Regions from separate parts of the Homo sapiens genome. Here region 2 is linked to region 1. The links are contacts of gene promoters, found by promoter capture Hi-C in blood cells and fetal thymus (Javierre and others, 2016). All regions are on one chromosome and are shown on one strand. Each heading gives the region's core, a stretch centred on a gene start or on the middle of the fragment in contact. The rest is flanking DNA. Distances are from core to core; before and after follow the strand shown.

Region 1 (5,070 bases), core at 1,041-3,540:
GGAAAGCAATAGTCACTCCCTAGTACACTGCCACCAACTCTCAAGCATTGGAAGATCTTCACAGTTAAAATCTGAGAGCCTATTAGCAGGCTTTCAAAGCAGCAAAATGCTGTGGGCAATGGAGTTCAAGTGAAACACTTGTTCAGAACAAGTTATAAAGTATTTGAAATATGAAGTGAATGGGAGTAGGTCTGCCTCATTTCATTTGGAGAAATCACAAAGGATTAATTTAATAGTTTAGGCACAGGAGACAGGGAACAGCCTCAAGGGGGCTGTGGCCCAATGGAGAGAGAAATGTAAATGGACAGAATACAATACAGAAGCATTTGCACAGGAGAAAGGCCACACAAAAGCGGAAGTGATGGGAGGTGGGGGGGGGCAAATGAGAAGGTAAAGGTGACACTTGAGCTTGGTTTTAAAAGATGAAAGGGAATTTGCCACCAAATAGATTTGCTCTTACGTTTAATGTATTCAGGATCTGAGTAACTCTTTGGTAAAGTTTTTTTACTGAAAACTTGAGAGTCACTGGCCTAAGCAAAAGGGGGCTGAATTTCTGAATTTAAAGCCTTAAGGGGAGAAAAAGAGGATAGAAAAAAAAAAATTTAGAAGGCTAAATTTAGTAGGGTTTGATCAATTCCCAAAGACGACTATAGCTTTTCGCTTTAAACCATAAAACACCAAAGATGCTAAATGAAGTGGGGAACAGGAAGGACAGGTTGGTGGCAGGTAAGGCAAGTATGGGACAAATCAAGTTTTCAGAGCCTGTGGATAAGTGCCTGCTACCCCACTAAATGATTCAAAACACTTTTTATTCACCACCACCCACTATGCCCTAGTACAATGACAGGCAGTCAACAAAATGTACTGAATGAACACAATGGGATCAGGAATTCAAAAGCTAGCTATGGGAATGAACAAAAATAAATGGTAAAATAAGAAGTAGAACGTTACCTCCGTCTTTCCCATCAAATTCATATACCAAGGTAGCTTTTGAATTTGGGTTCTACAATTCCTTCAGTTATATGGATTCAAATAAATGTACCAGTATATAATTCAAAGATGGGTGTATATAAGCAAGTAATATAAAAAGATCCATTACTTACTTAGTCTGTGAAGCTGTGGTTAACTTCTCCAAAATAGTGTCTGGAAGGAGTTTTCTTTTCTTTTGGAATGAAAACGTTTAAAATTAATAGAAAGTCATGTACATAGTATGTCCGGAGTTGCTTCTGAAGTTACCGCTTTTAAGAATGCCCTACATCTAGGCAAAGAAATGAATTAGGCTGGAAACTGCCCCCATACCTCTAAGCTATGGGAAGACCGGGTCCACAAAACTCCACATTCTCTGAAAGACTTGATGAAAACTAGAAAGGGTGCCCACGGTATTCTAACCCTCAGGTCACTGTTATAAATTGAAAGCAGTTAAGTAATGTCTGCCTGGAGCCAGCTCTCTGTGTCGAGTATCAGACAGCAAAGCAACCATACACTAAGTCTGTACAGCCCTTACAGTTTACAAATCACCTCATTTAATTCTCACAGCAACCTCTTATTTTCAGTTGGTGGACACTAAAGGAGACGAACTTTTTTTTTTTGAGACAGGGTCTCGCTCTGTCGCCCAGGCTGGAGCGCAGTGGTGTGATCTCGGCTCCAGGCAGCCTCGACATCCCGGGCTCCGCCCACCTCGTCCAACTAAAGTACTGCCGCGCCCGGCCCGAGCATCTTTCCACCACTGTCAGAGGCAATCTTGGTGACTGTTTCCCCACTCCAATATCCTGCCAACCCAAATTACATCCACCATAGGAATTCTCCCTGAGCCGAGTTGTTTTAATAAGACACCTCCTCCCTAGCCTCTAACCTTCTGTTCGATGAACAGCTCCTCGCGTCGCTTCCTCTTCTCCTTCAGGAGCGTTTTATCCCTGGGAGGAAGGGTGATAAGTCAGCAAAGGGAAGGACAAGCGGGACGAGAAAGGGCGGTTCTCCCCGCCGGGCAGCGGGCTCCGAACCTGCGCACGGTCTCCCGCACTCGCCGCTCCTCTTCTCTCGCTTCCGCCTGGGCGCTGGCGAAAGTCAGCTCCTCCGGGGCCTCATCGTCAAACTCATCGTCCCCTTCCTCGTCTTCCTCCAGGGGCTCGGCGGCCGCGCCGCTGCTGGGCTGCCCGAGCAACAGCCCGTGCTCCGCCTCCTCCTCCTCCGAGGCCAGCTGGCCCTCGTCCACCATCGCCTCCGCCGACGCCGGGGCGCGAGACGCTCGCGGTCGGAGCTGCACCATGGCCCACGCAGCGCTAGACCGTCTGACCTCTGACCCGGAAGCAGCTACAAGCGGAGCGCAAGCCTACTTTCATCGCCCCCTGCAGGTTCGGAGGTCCTCAGGACGGGTGGGGCGCATGCGCGAAGGGAGGAAGGGCGTGGCCTGTAGGCAGTGGGCGTGTTTCTTTCCACGTGGCCAGCGCAGGCCGCCTTGGAGCCGGATGGACCCCACGGAAAATGCTCTGCCGGCGAAAGCGGCTGGCAATGGGGTTGATTTCAAGGCAGGGAAGAGCCATCGCGCTGCCCTCCTCGGCTGGGATGGCGAGACAGGGCTGGCACGGCTCACGCTGTCCGGTGCTCAGAAAACCGGTAATCGCGGGCCCGAGGCGCTGCTCGCCGCCGTTTTTTGGCCCTGGGTTCCGTCGAGTGGATCCAGCTTGTCAGTCTTTGTGTAGATTTGGCTGCGTTCGCTCCGCACTTCGGAGGAGGTGGCGTTTCATGGGAAGAAATGCGCTCTAGCAGATGGCCGCCGTGGCCAGTCAGCCCTGCTGCCACCGACGAAGACGCGGGCGACAGACCTGGACTCTAAAGAAATCTGCACAGACGTGCCCGGCGCCCTCGGCCTTCCCAGCTCCGCGGCCGCAGCGACGCCGGTTAGGATGTCGGCCCTGTGGGAGGGGCGCCCTTCCTGGTGCCGGGCCCTAACCCACGACCTGGAACAGCAGCTGGCCCGTGGCAAATGCTGAGCATATCTCCTGAAAGAATGGCTTCGCCGGTCCCTAGAGAATGCACCCGAGTTTTGTGGTATATACACATACGTACTTTTTTTCCAAGTATATTTTATTTCTTGGCAAACATGGCCCTTTGTGATCGCTGTGTTTCTCTCCTCCCATCCATTATACAACACTAAGTGATTCATCATTCTTTGAACAAATCAAACTGTTTCACACCTGCCATGCATTTGTACCGACCGTGCTCTTCCCTCTACTGCCGCAGCCCCCCAGGTAGAAGTCCTTTTTATACTTCAAAAATTCCCACCCAGGCAAATTTCAAGCACCTTACCCCTACCCCATCCCACTCTGCCCATCTCTAATTGCGCTGGTCTGAACCCGCACAAATGTCTGTGTAGTTTCTGCACTTCATAACAGCTTATATGACAGTTGCTCCAGCCATTCTGTGAACCCCTGAGGGGAAGGGCCAGGTCTTGCTAGTCATTTTATTTCTAATGTCTATCATCTGGTAGATGTTTAATAAATGCTAAGTTGAATAATTCTATCTTACACATATATTGTATTTTTAATTCTCTTTTCATGTCTTCTGTTTTAGAAGCAATTCTCAATTTAAAAACGACAAAACCAAATAGGAACAAAAATGATAAAACTTGAAAACAACAACAACAAAAAAAGCTGCTGAACCAGAGGTTCAGTATGAGAGGAATTGCAAAGAACAGTTTTGAAATCTCTAGGCCTTAGTCAGATAGAAATTACAAATCAAAAATATAATCAGACTCCCTGAGACACTAACACTAGGAAAATGAATAAAGTTAACTTGGAGCAGCCCAAGAACAAACTTATAAGTGCATGATGGTATTTTATGTGCAAAACTGCTTTATAAGTACTATAAGACTATTACAGGTATTACCAGTGCCCTCAGTGTAAACTCCTTGGCCCACCCATGTAAAGTGTACATCGAGCCCTCAGGGTCCCTGACTGGTTCTCCAGCCGCCCCATAGGCTATGAGCATCCCCGTTCCCTACACAAAGGACCACTGGGATTTATTAAAGGTTATGCCTTGCAATGCAGTACAAAGTTTTATATGATAGTGTCTTGTTGCCTGTTTCTACAAAAGCCAAGGGTGTAACATTAAATGCAATTTTGCAAGGGGCTGAGGTGATGTGGTCCAAGTATGTAATCACTTCAGGGAGCCATATGTGACCTTCATACACTGTTGATAATGGCCATGCCTCCCAGTCAGGCCTGTGACACCTGCTGGACAGCAGGCATTCCAAGGCCCCTAAGCACTGAGTTAGCTGGTAAAGGTTAAGGAAAAAGCTGTATTCTTACTACTTTACTCCAAGGTAGTAAAGTGTATGGAAGATGTACCTGACAGAAATAACTTAAGCATCCCCTGAGAATGACCCTGTATGGCAGATGCATCTGACAGCAATAACTTAAGAAGTGAGGGTTGCCACGTGGAGGCTGCTGAGGGGAGGGTGCTGAGTGAAAGTGCTATGTAAACTGCATGCTTTTTATAAGTGGTTGCAGTTCTGTCCAGCCCGCGGCCACTGGACCACCCTGTAAGGTTCCCCAAATAAACCCTATGTTTCCTTCACTAGCTCCAGGTCTCTTCTTTGGCCTCTTGAACCTGGTGCCATCCCTACTGAAGTTAACAGAGGTCTGGCCCAACCTAAGGGCATCATTTTTTAAAGTCCCATGGAAAAAACTCCCAGCAGAGTTCAGCATCTGGGAACGGTTGGCAGGCCCCACAGGAACCACAGCTTCTGCCTTTATGATGCTGAGAAACACTTCACTGTTGACTTCCCCCATCTAAGGGGGCCAGAGCTAAATTTTGGGCAGCTGTGTTTATCCTGGGGGTCCACATATTTGCATCATTCTTTCTTCTCATCGTGATGTTCTACCTTGTTGGTACTGTTCTCTTCCTTCTTTGTGTGAGTTCCTGTTGTGAGCTTCCCCTTGTTCACTGAGGTAATGTAGCCAAACAAGGTTAAAAAGCCCCCAGTAAGCCGGGTGCGGTGGCTCATGCCCGTAATCTCAGCACTTTGGGAGGCCGAGGCGGGCAGATCACCTGAGGTCGAGAGTTTAAGAC
Region 2 (5,070 bases), core at 1,516-4,015, 310 kb before region 1:
GTCAATAAAGGCTTCAGTGGCTTTATTTAGGCTGCCTATGCAGGCTTATATGGTTACAAACAACTGACTTTCAATGGCACAAACATAATGTTAATCCTAACTTAAACAGGAACATTTGTGGCTTTTTTTTGTCTTTGGATATGCTTCATAAACTGAATTACAGAATTCTTTCAGGTAGAATACAGCTATGGTGACAATTATCAGGCCATATTTTACAGCTTATACCAAAAATTAGGACCAATTTTACGTCATAAAATTAAAACCCGTAAGCTAAAATGCAGGAAAAGACTCCTACTCCCGTGAATCAGCAAGAGTGATGACTAGTATTTTACACCTGGGGATATGCAATGCTGTTGCCTGCTTCCACCAGGTGGCTAAACCATGGACAGAAAACACAATTGCTGTTTGCATTTTCTAAGGACATATTGCAGATATCATAGTATTTTTTCTTTCATTATCTGGTTATGCACATACCTCAGAACACTAGTAACACATATAAACATGCCAGATTATTGTTTTCCACTGCACTGACACAAGCTTCATTTCATGCTTCGGAGCTCTTATTAATAAGCCACTACAACCAAGCAGTGCATGCAATACATGATTGTTGATTTCTGTATACCGACTTTATTTTTTGGCAGAAAATGATGCAGCTCTGAAGAAGCCAAACTATATTGAATGTTGTGCCCGTGTGAGCTAGCAGCAAAGGCAAAGCACCGGTCCTTACTGTGCTAAATTCACCATGGATATCTCCGTTCTTCAGCACTCAGATTAAGGGCCACAACATAAATGTTTAGGCTAGAACTCACAGTGTGGGTTTCATCTGGCAGAAAGCACGGACCAAGTCCTTGAACTTGAATACTGGTTTTGCTAACAAAGATCTGAATAAAGCTGTTCTGTTGGTCCCTCAGGAAAAAAAAAAAAACACACACACACACACAAACACACAAAATAATTTATTTTTAGTACAAAACATAAAACTACATTCTCTGTCTATATAATGTGCCTAGGCTTCAATATCCTATTTGCTGTTCATGCTTAAGTGAGAAAATACTTTTCTCTCCCGTTTATCTTCTCAAAACAGATCTACTTCGTTTTAATCAATGTACGATTTTATTACCGTCATGAAAGAGTATTTAGCAGAGCATCTGTGAATCTTCCACAGGTAAAATTCAGTTTAAAAACAAGCCCAATTGTGAAATAACCTGCAAACTGTTAATTGCAACTTCAATCCTTTAGTTTCCAATACAATCTTCTAATGAAGTGGCATTACTTGAAGTTGCTGGCAAATATGAACAGACTGAGAAACCTAGTAATCAGCAGGCTAACAGGTGTTGAAATCCCAAAAGAGGGAAGAGGAATATTAAATAATCACTCTTTGCCTGACACCTCAAGTAGCTGTAATATGCAGAATTCCAATCAACTTAACTGCAATTCAAAATGATCAGTGGTACTGTTTTCATTAATTACTCTCTAGCAAAAATATAATTTCTTGCATTCCATATAGTTCTTTAAATGACCTATTCCAACTTATACATTATTTTACTAAGTTGGATATACAATTTTATATGTTAGATTATTTTCCAGTTATCAATATGACATCTCATATTGTTTAAATATGATTTAAAACAAATCTTATTAACATATATACAATTTCCTTCTGAATTGATCAACTGTATTTCTGAAAATGTATCTGTTTTCTTTCATATTACTACATGTAAGATGATGTCTAAGTACCAAAAAAAAAAGTCTTCACAGTCACAATTTAAATCTGTGCTTCGCGTCTGCAACAAACTATCACGAAATGATTGCAAGGGTTGGGGCCACTGAGAAAGGTACCTATAACCTATCCAGTGCCCCAGTGGCAACCGCATCGTGGTCCTCATCATCCCACTCATAAACACCGATGCAAACACCGCCCAGCTACCTGCCTCCAGAGGTGCTTTGGATTGCCTCCCTACACATAAAAACAAAAGGCACTTTCCAGTTCCTTACAGCATGAACACAATACCTTCTAGAAACAAAAGCAATGACCTCGGTGCCAAGTATCTCCTTGACAAAGTATCGGTACTGCTCTACATTCTGGTCTTGCTAGTCGGGGAAAGCCGGGCTACCCTTACCATCCAGTTATAGGTGCAACTGCACCTTCCAAAGAAAAAAAGGTCTTTCGATTCAATATCCAAACGAACTTCAGAAGCCTCCTCAAAATGCTTCAGCCACAGGCATAAAAATGGGCTCACTTTTCAGAGATTCGTAAAAATCTTTCGCTTGTCCCTCTTACTACCCTCCCAACCCCTCCTCAAAGAGAATGCCATGAAACATGAAAGTCCAAAGGTAAATACTTTCATACCTTTTTTTCCCCCAAAAGCCTCGATGGCACGCCAAGAAGGAAAATAACAACAACAACAGAGGGGCAGCTCCCTGAGCAGGTGCAGCCCGCGCGGGCGCTCCGCAGCCGCCCTCCGCCGCACAGCCCCTCAAGTTGGTGCCAGGACGGCGGCCCCCGTGGTGCCCGGAGGGAGACTCCGCGCGCGGGCCCCGGCGCCGCTCGGCCCGAAGTTTGCCGCCCCCTCTCCTCGGCGCGCTTGGGCGGCCCGGCGCCGTCCAGGACTGCGGGGCTGGCTGCTGCCCCAGCGTTGGGGAGGCCCGGCGTCCCGCCGACCCCTCCCCGGCCGCGGGCGCGATCGCCTTACCTGGCCGGCGGCGGCCCAGGGCCCGGGAGCCGCTCCGGCTGCGGCGGCGCCTGGGAGGGGAGGGAGGTTCCCGTGGAGGAGGAGCTCGCGCGAGGAGCTAGCGGGCTGGCGGGCGGGCGGCTTTGTCTCTACGGCGCTGAGCCGCCGACCCTGCGTCACCATGGCAACCGCCGGGGCCCCCCCGGCCCTTCCCCTCAGCAGTCCGGGTATTCGGAGAGGACAAGGACCCCCGATGGGCCGCCACCACCACAAACACGCCCCTCTCTCAGTCTCCCTCACAAACCGCCTGTTTCTCCCCAGCGAGAGGGGAAGGCTAAAGCGGAGCGAGCCCAGGGCCAAGTGGTATTCGCATCCTAGTAGGCACTCCTTTGCTTCCCCACACTGGACATTCCAACTCCCGTCGCACCACCATCCCCCCCACAGACACCCTCCACCACTACCACCACCACACCTTTCTCCTGTGGAGCTGTACCCTCAAAATGGAAATTCACTTAAGGGAGGAGAAAGAGCAATGCAAAGTGATAAAGTGTTGAGCAACTGGTACTCGGTTCTCCTGTTGCAACTGCCGCAGCATGCACGGAGCTGCCAAGGGACGCCGTGCCGCCTCCTCCCTCTCCCCCTCCTCCTCCTCTCTCTTTTAGCAAGCTTTGCCTCTGCTGGATGTGGTCTCACTCCACCCAACCCGTGTATCTGTCTTGTTGAGGGCTCCCGTAGGAGAGAGGGGAAAGGGGGCTTTATCTCTGATGTAAACACTGGATACACTTGTAACCTCAGAAGCTGAAACACAACTTTCAGGCTGCAGTATGGATCTCAGCTGCTGCCACACTGCGCAGCTACTGGCTGTGACCGCTAAGCATCTACCATGAGCCCTGAGTGACTCTGTGCCAAGGACTGGTCACGTACTGCAGGCCATGGCACTCAGGAGCAGAGAAAAGAAAGCTAACTTTTTCCTCTCCTGAGGAAATTCTTAGAGAGGGAGAGAAAAGTACCAGCAGACCCTTGGTCATGCTTCCTCTAAAGGACGAACTAGAGGGCAGCCTCCATGGGGGGAGTGAGTCATCCCTCCATACTGTTTTCTTGAAAGATCCGTTGCTGAATCCAAAAGCTACAGTGTCTTTCTTCAAACCCTGGGGAACATGACATTTATTTTTTGGCATTTGTGAATCACCAAAGGAATGTCAATGATTTATAATAAAATCCACGGTAGCTGATGTTTTCTGGGTTTACTACTTGAGAAGCCACAAAGCAGAACAATGTTATTGCCATTTGAAGGTACACCTATATTAACTAATGAAAAGATAAGATCTATTTCATGGTGGAAAAGGAAAACAGTTTGTTCCTCGGAGAGACTGGCCACTTTCTTGTAATGGGAATATTCTGAATGAAGTCAATAATATTCCAGATGAAGTCAAAAGACAAGGTCTTTTTGGCAGGCCATTAAGCATTTGGCAATACCTGCCAGAATTCAAAATGCACATACATTTCTCCCAGCTATCTCAATTCTAGAGATCTGTCATACAGAAACACACAAATGTGTAATGATAGATATAAAAGGATATGCATTGCAGAAGTTTTGTAATAGTAAATGTTTGAAACAACTTATATGCCCATCAATAGTGATATGGTTAAATAATGTGGCACTTCATACCATGTAATACTATGCATCCATTAATAAGAATAAAATATATAAAATTCATAGATATTGATTTCTTATTAAATGGAAAAGGGGGGCTCAGAACCGTATGTGTGGGTGATCCCATTCTGTACAAAAAAACTGGATATATAGGAACAGAACAAAAACATAGGGATAAAGGTCTATAAGAATGCCTACCTAATTGCTAGAAGTGGTAACCTGTTAACTACAAAAAAAATTGAAGGGACAGTTACCTCTTACGATGTACAATTTAGTACACATATTTGGTTTGTTTGGCTTTTTCAAATGAGCATTTATTAGTAATTTATCAATGAAGAAGCAAAAACAAAAAGCTTTAATAAATGTTTGTTGACCTGCATGCACATTACTGCCTGATCAAAAACTGAATACAGAACAGGGAGGGACCATTGACTTGGCCATCCCTGCCCTCAGCTGAAGGCTTGGAAAAGTCCACGTTGTGTCCCCACTTAGAGCATTGCTTAGTGACCTGGTCCTGCGTTATTCTGTGAGACATTCTTCCAGACATTCATTTTTCCAAAAGAGGTTTAGCTTTATCTTAAGGTCTGCTTCCATTCTGCCTCTTGGAGAAAATTAAAAGACTTGTCAGGAAACCATCTTAAAATGTGCCACCTTACTTACCAGGGGATATCATTTGAATAGGTTAAGTGGCAGCTTTTAGTCTGTTTAGCTAAACTGAAACTGAAGATACTAAAGCTTAAAAAT

The links. The method cuts DNA at HindIII sites, captures the fragments that hold promoters and counts their contacts. A CHiCAGO score of 5 or more calls a contact.
Region 2: the fragment with the promoter of RNF182 here is called in contact with the fragment with the promoter of NOL7 in region 1 in 3 of 17 cell types (non-activated CD4 T cells, activated CD4 T cells and total CD4 T cells); the score reaches 8.7 in non-activated CD4 T cells.

Annotation. Positions count from the first base shown.
Region 1 is chr6:13,612,555-13,617,624 of GRCh38, reverse strand. It overlaps NOL7 (nucleolar protein 7), which reads right to left and starts at 2,290. Exons shown (of 8, transcript NM_016167.5): 1 at 2,001-2,290; 2 at 1,853-1,913; 3 at 1,104-1,162. The coding sequence starts at 2,266. SIRT5 (sirtuin 5) reads right to left here. Exons shown (of 10, transcript NM_012241.5): 10 at 2,467-5,070. It overlaps LOC124901263 (a long non-coding RNA gene), which reads left to right and starts at 2,423. Exons shown (of 2, transcript XR_007059461.1): 1 at 2,423-5,070. RefSeq lists an enhancer at 2,908-3,077. The HindIII fragment of the contact is 25,604 bases long and covers 1-5,070 here.
Region 2 is chr6:13,922,647-13,927,716 of GRCh38, reverse strand. It overlaps RNF182 (ring finger protein 182), which reads right to left and starts at 2,765. Exons shown (of 3, transcript NM_152737.4): 1 at 2,694-2,765. RefSeq lists an enhancer at 3,370-3,870. The HindIII fragment of the contact is 2,801 bases long and covers 540-3,340 here.